2 separate regions of the Homo sapiens genome follow, and region 2 is linked to region 1. The links are contacts of gene promoters, found by promoter capture Hi-C in human tissues and cell types (Jung and others, 2019). All regions are on one chromosome and are shown on one strand. Each heading gives the region's core, a stretch centred on a gene start or on the middle of the fragment in contact. The rest is flanking DNA. Distances are from core to core; before and after follow the strand shown. Region 1 holds the start of RLF (RLF zinc finger). Region 2 overlaps MYCL (MYCL proto-oncogene, bHLH transcription factor).

The links. The method cuts DNA at HindIII sites, captures the fragments that hold promoters and counts their contacts. A contact is called where the count stands out against the background at its distance.
Region 2: a contact is called between a fragment that was not itself captured here and the fragment with the promoter of RLF in region 1, in 1 of the 25 tissues and cell types used here (liver).

What each region holds. Positions count from the first base shown.
Region 1 is chr1:40,159,652-40,162,807 of GRCh38, reverse strand. RLF (RLF zinc finger) reads right to left here and starts at 1,421. Exons shown (of 8, transcript NM_012421.4): 1 at 1,172-1,421. The coding sequence starts at 1,408. LOC105378671 (a long non-coding RNA gene) reads left to right here and starts at 1,530. Exons shown (of 3, transcript XR_947232.3): 1 at 1,530-1,843. RefSeq lists enhancers at 517-1,132, 1,136-1,645, 1,133-1,749 and a silencer at 2,758-2,959. The HindIII fragment of the contact is 7,287 bases long and covers 1-3,156 here.
Region 2 is chr1:39,894,160-39,897,024 of GRCh38, reverse strand. It overlaps MYCL (MYCL proto-oncogene, bHLH transcription factor), which reads left to right. Exons shown (of 2, transcript NM_001033081.3): 2 at 1-1,597. The region is part of intron 1 of MYCL-AS1 (MYCL antisense RNA 1); the gene reads right to left. Among named protein-coding and RNA genes, the nearest start is that of MYCL, 6.3 kb to the left of the region's middle. The HindIII fragment of the contact is 4,329 bases long and covers 1-2,865 here.

The DNA.
Region 1 (3,156 bases), core at 172-2,671:
GCAATGTTGCAGGTTGTACACACAAAAATTGGAGTGGTACAATCCACGGAAAAGATTAGTAAGGACAAAATTCCATTCAGAGAGATGAGGTGCTTCTGCCTCGGCAGAGAGAGGGAAGAAAAGCAATCAAGCAAGCTAACTTTTATTCTACTCCGGACCAACAGAGCAAATTGCCCCCCAAAATTATTATTTTAGAACGCCGCAATTTATTCAGCATACTGGACTACTTATTAGACTCCAAGTACCAACATGCCACGATTATTTTGCATTTTCTAAGGTACAACAGATAAGGAGCTGATGGGTGCCTCTGAAACCTGACAGAACAAACATTGGAAGCAGAAATAATAATGGCCAATATTTGTATTTGTAAAAGACTTGAAAACATACAGAAAAATCTCGGAGTGGTCATGGAGACTAAACTAAACACACCCATAAATATGTAATCATAGGTTAGGACCCACCAAGGCACAGAAATGATCATACGACTGCCAAAAGAGGCCACACTCTACATCCCTCTTCCCATCCTCTTCTACTCAAAGAGTCAGCCTTATTCTCGGTAGCACAATCCTCTCAAAGAAATACAGAAAAGACGAAAGAACGGCTTAAACGTAAAAAAAAAAAAAGCAAAAACCAAACAACCAACCGGCTCCGCAATCCCTAATCAGAAAGCTCTAGACGCCTTTCGAAGCCAACTGTCATACCTTTTAGGAGCCCAGAAGATGTTAACTCCAAAAATAAGTCTCTGGCCCCAACACACCTCTCTGGATTATTCAGAAAAACCCGGGTTTACCAGTTCGGAGATCTGCACTCCACTCAAAAAAGGATCTCCCGGCAGGGACAAGCAATCAATCCCTCAGGGGGCAGTGGCGCTCCAACCACCCGGCCAGGACACAGGCAACGGCGACAGGGCACAGCCCTTCCAGGGACCCGCCAGGGCCCTCCGGGATCTCAGTAAGGCTCAGAGCAAAACGACCCAGCGGTGGCCAAAGTCGGGCAGTGGCGCAGGGGGGCCAGCGGTCGAGCTTCCGAGCTGGGCCTTCCCGGCCCGGGGGCGCGGCGAGTCACGGAGGTGGCGCCTTTCAGTTTGGACCCGGCTGCTTACAGAGGATCCAGGGCCTCCTTCCCTGACTTCCCCGCCCCGCCGCCCTCAGCCAGCCAGTCAGCCCCTCACCTGGCAGAAGCTCCGGCAGTAGTTCAAAGATGAGACCTCCGACACCTCTTGCTCCCTCAGCTCTGTCTCCAGCTGCCACAGACACGGCCGCAGTCCCGAGGCTCCCGGCGCTGGAGATACGGGGCGATGACCCCGAACCATGGACTCAGTCTCGACTCCATCTCCGGCTCCCGCTACCGCCGGAGCCTCAGCCCCAGCCCCGGCGACAGCGGCGGCGTCTCCCTTTCCGTCCGCCATCTTCCCACGGCCCACCAGCGCGTAGGCAACCAAGCCACGTGACTCAGCCCTGGCCCTGCCCCCGGCCGCCCGCGCACTGTGACGCACTCCTTAGCGACGCGGGCGCCCGCCTGATTCCGTCACTCGGACTCCGGGTGCTCTCAGTGGCCTACGCATCGCCAGTCCTGACAACAGCCTAGCAACAACTGGCTAGAGGCTATGCCCACCTAGACCCCTTTGAGGTCATGGGATCACGGAGCCAGAAATGCCTGTAGAGCAATCTAGATTTGAGGGGGATGACATTTGAACTGCGATCTGAAGGGACAAGAGGAAGGTAGCCCTGAAAGGAACATAGCGAAAAGCATCCCTGGTAGAAGGAAAATAAGCAAAGATTGTGAGGCCGAAATGAAGAGTAACATCAAGGGAACTTGGTTTATGATACAGACGGCATTACAAGTCAGTGGGCGAAAGGACAGACTCTTCAATAAATGGCGATGAGACATTTTTTCCAAAAGGGAAATAAATGATTAGATTTCTACCTCAAACCATTTCCAAAAATAAGGCCGAGATGGATTAAAGACCTGCAAACATTTTTCAGAAAATAAAAATAGCTTTATAATGTCAAAAATAGGGAAGAATTTTTTTTTTTTTTTTTAGACGGAGTCTCACCCTTGTTGCCCAGGCTGGAGTGCAACAGTGCTATCTCAGCTCACCGCAACCTCCGCCTCCTTGGTTCAAACATTCTCCTGCCTCAGCTTCCGGAGCAGCTGGGATTACATGCATGCGCCACCATACCTGGCTAATTTTGTATTTTTAGTAGAGATGGGGTTTCTCCATGTTGGTCAGGCTGGTCTCGAACTCCTGACCTCAGGTGATCCGCCCGCCTCAGCCTCCCAAAGTGCTGGGATTAGAGGCGTGAGCCACCGCGCCCGGCTAAGAATTTCTTAATAAGACCGGAAAAGCACAAACCATAAGGGAAAATATTTAGATTTGACTGTATTAAAATGTGTTACTTCCGTATAACAAGTTGAAAAAGCACACAAAGACAAGCCACAGACTAAATGATATTCCCCATATATATAACCATTGTTTATTGTTGTTGTTTTTTGAGACAGGGTCTCACTCTGTCACCCAGCCTGGAGTGCAGTGGCACGATCTAGGCTCACTGCAACCTCTGCCTCTCAGGTTTAAGTGATTCTCGTGCTTCAGCCTCCCAAAGTAGCTGGCACTATAAGCGTCCGCCACCATGCCTGGCTAATGTTTGTATTTTTAGTAGAGGCGGGGTTTCACTGTGTTGGCCAGGCTGATCTCGAACTCCTGGCCTCAAGTGATCCGCCCGCCTTGGCCTTCCAAAGTGCTGGGATTACAGGCGTGAGCCACCGCGCCCAGCCATAACCATTGTTTTGATTAGTATCCAAAACAGTTCCCGGGCTGGGCGAGGTGGCTCACGCCTGTAATCCCAGCACTTTGGGAGGCCGAGGCGGGCAGATCACGAGGTCAGGAGATCAGGACTATCCTGGCTAACACGGTGAAACCCTGTCTCTACTAAAAATACAAAAAATTAGCCGGGCGTGGTGGCGGGCGCCTGTAGTCCCAGCTACTCGGGAGGCTGAGGCAGGAGAATGGCGTGAACCTGAGAGGCAGGGGTTGCAGTGAGCCGAGATCGCGCCACTGCATTCCAGCCTGGGTGACAGAGCAAGACTCCGTCTCAAAAAACAAACAAACAAACAAACAAATAGTTCCCAAAATCGAAAAAGGCAAACAACCCA
Region 2 (2,865 bases), core at 5-2,504, 270 kb after region 1:
CAGCCTGCATGAAATCTCACACTCTGCATGAGCTTTAGGCTAGGAAAGGATGCTCCCAACTGGTGTCTCTGGGGTGATGCAAGGACAGCTGGGCCTGGATGCTCTCCCTGAGGCTCCTTTTTCCAGAAGACACACGAGCTGTCTTGGGTGAAGACAAGCTTGCAGACTTGATCAACATTGACCATTACCTCACTGTCAGACACTTTACAGTAGCCAAGGAGTTGGAAACCTTTATATATTATGATGTTAGCTGACCCCCTTCCTCCCACTCCCAATGCTGCGACCCTGGGAACACTTAAAAAGCTTGGCCTCTAGATTCTTTGTCTCAGAGCCCTCTGGGCTCTCTCCTCTGAGGGAGGGACCTTTCTTTCCTCACAAGGGACTTTTTTGTTCCATTATGCCTTGTTATGCAATGGGCTCTACAGCACCCTTTCCCACAGGTCAGAAATATTTCCCCAAGACACAGGGAAATCGGTCCTAGCCTGGGGCCTGGGGATAGCTTGGAGTCCTGGCCCATGAACTTGATCCCTGCCCAGGTGTTTTCCGAGGGGCACTTGAGGCCCAGTCTTTTCTCAAGGCAGGTGTAAGACACCTCAGAGGGAGAACTGTACTGCTGCCTCTTTCCCACCTGCCTCATCTCAATCCTTGAGCGGCAAGTTTGAAGTTCTTCTGGAACCATGCAAATCTGTCCTCCTCATGCAATTCCAAGGAGCTTGCTGGCTCTGCAGCCACCCTTGGGCCCCTTCCAGCCTGCCATGAATCAGATATCTTTCCCAGAATCTGGGCGTTTCTGAAGTTTTGGGGAGAGCTGTTGGGACTCATCCAGTGCTCCAGAAGGTGGACTTGCTTCTGGTGGGTTTTAAAGGAGCCTCCAGGAGATATGCTTAGCCAACCATGATGGATTTTACCCCAGCTGGACTCGGCAGCTCCAAGTGGAATCCACGTGCAGCTTCTAGTCTGGGAAAGTCACCCAACCTAGCAGTTGTCATGTGGGTAACCTCAGGCACCTCTAAGCCTGTCCTGGAAGAAGGACCAGCAGCCCCTCCAGAACTCTGCCCAGGACAGCAGGTGCCTGCTGGCTCTGGGTTTGGAAGTTGGGGTGGGTAGGGGGTGGTAAGTACTATATATGGCTCTGGAAAACCAGCTGCTACTTCCAAATCTATTGTCCATAATGGTTTCTTTCTGAGGTTGCTTCTTGGCCTCAGAGGACCCCAGGGGATGTTTGGAAATAGCCTCTCTACCCTTCTGGAGCATGGTTTACAAAAGCCAGCTGACTTCTGGAATTGTCTATGGAGGACAGTTTGGGTGTAGGTTACTGATGTCTCAACTGAATAGCTTGTGTTTTATAAGCTGCTGTTGGCTATTATGCTGGGGGAGTCTTTTTTTTTTATATTGTATTTTTGTATGCCTTTTGCAAAGTGGTGTTAACTGTTTTTGTACAAGGAAAAAAACTCTTGGGGCAATTTCCTGTTGCAAGGGTCTGATTTATTTTGAAAGGCAAGTTCACCTGAAATTTTGTATTTAGTTGTGATTACTGATTGCCTGATTTTAAAATGTTGCCTTCTGGGACATCTTCTAATAAAAGATTTCTCAAACATGTCAGAGTGGGGGCAGCTTATGCCACCTGAGTCCTCCTCAACCACGGAAAACTATTTCAGGGTAGCCACAAGTGATCCAGAGGGCTGCACTTCTCTAACCATGTTGCTAACCTGGTCATTCCACTCTGGGTTCCTGAAATGCCATTTCAGACATGTTGAAACAATGTAGGCTCAGTACTCAGTGAACACGGAATTCTCTTGTGAATTGCAAAGAGTGCTGAATTTGTACTTTAGAAGGCTTGAAATCCTGGCTCCACCACTTCTGCAGCCTTTAGTTTCATCTTTCTGAGTCCTAGTTTCCTTATCGGTAAAATGGGGATAAATGCTACTTCACTGGGTTTTTGCAGGTATTAAATGAAGGGGTAGACTTAAAACTGCTTTCTAAACTATAAAGCCTTATACTCTTTAGGATGGTGTTATTCTTATCTTAGTGGTATGATGACCTTCTGCAAGATGTCTTTTAAAGTTTTTTTCTGAGAATTTATGTTGCAATGTACTTTTTTCTTACAGAAAGATAGTTTTAAAATTCTTTCTCCTGGCTGGGTGCAGTGGCTTATGCCTGTAATCCCAGCACTTTGCGAGGCTGAGGCAGGCAGACTGCTTGAGCTCAGGAGTTCAAGACCAGCCTGGGCAACATGGCAAAAACCCATGTCTACAAAAAATACAAAAATTAGCCAGGCATGGTGGTACACGCCTGTAGTCCCAACTACTCGGGAGGCTGAGGTGGGAGGATGGCTTGAGCCTGGGAGGCAGAGGTTGCAGTGAGCCAAGATTGCGCCACTGCACTCCAGCCTGGGCAACAGAGCCAGACCCTGTCTCAAAAAAAACATTCTTCCTCCTTAATTAATGAAAGAAAGTTTAAGCTTCATTTTCCTCCCATAGTTCTCATAAACTTGCTGTAAATGCAAGACAGGGGAATTCAGTAATAGCTGTTCCTCATAGGGCACTGCTTATGTCTGAACACTCTGCCATATCAACCATGTGTCAGGGCTACAGATGAAGAAACTGAGGTTCTAAGAGTAAACAAAGCTATGCAAATTCACAAGCTTGTAATTCAGTTGTGATTTGAAACCAGCTCTGCCTATCTCCAGAGCAAGAGGTCTTAGTCACTATATTATGATGATCAGCTTGTTTGTTAGCACGGGGTATGTGGAGAAGGTAAACGTGGAATTCCGTCATTTAACTGCTTGTTGTAACTCTCTTTGGGGCTATTGTGCCTGCCACTTATTGGGATGAAATGGAGCAAATGTCCCATGACCAGCAACTC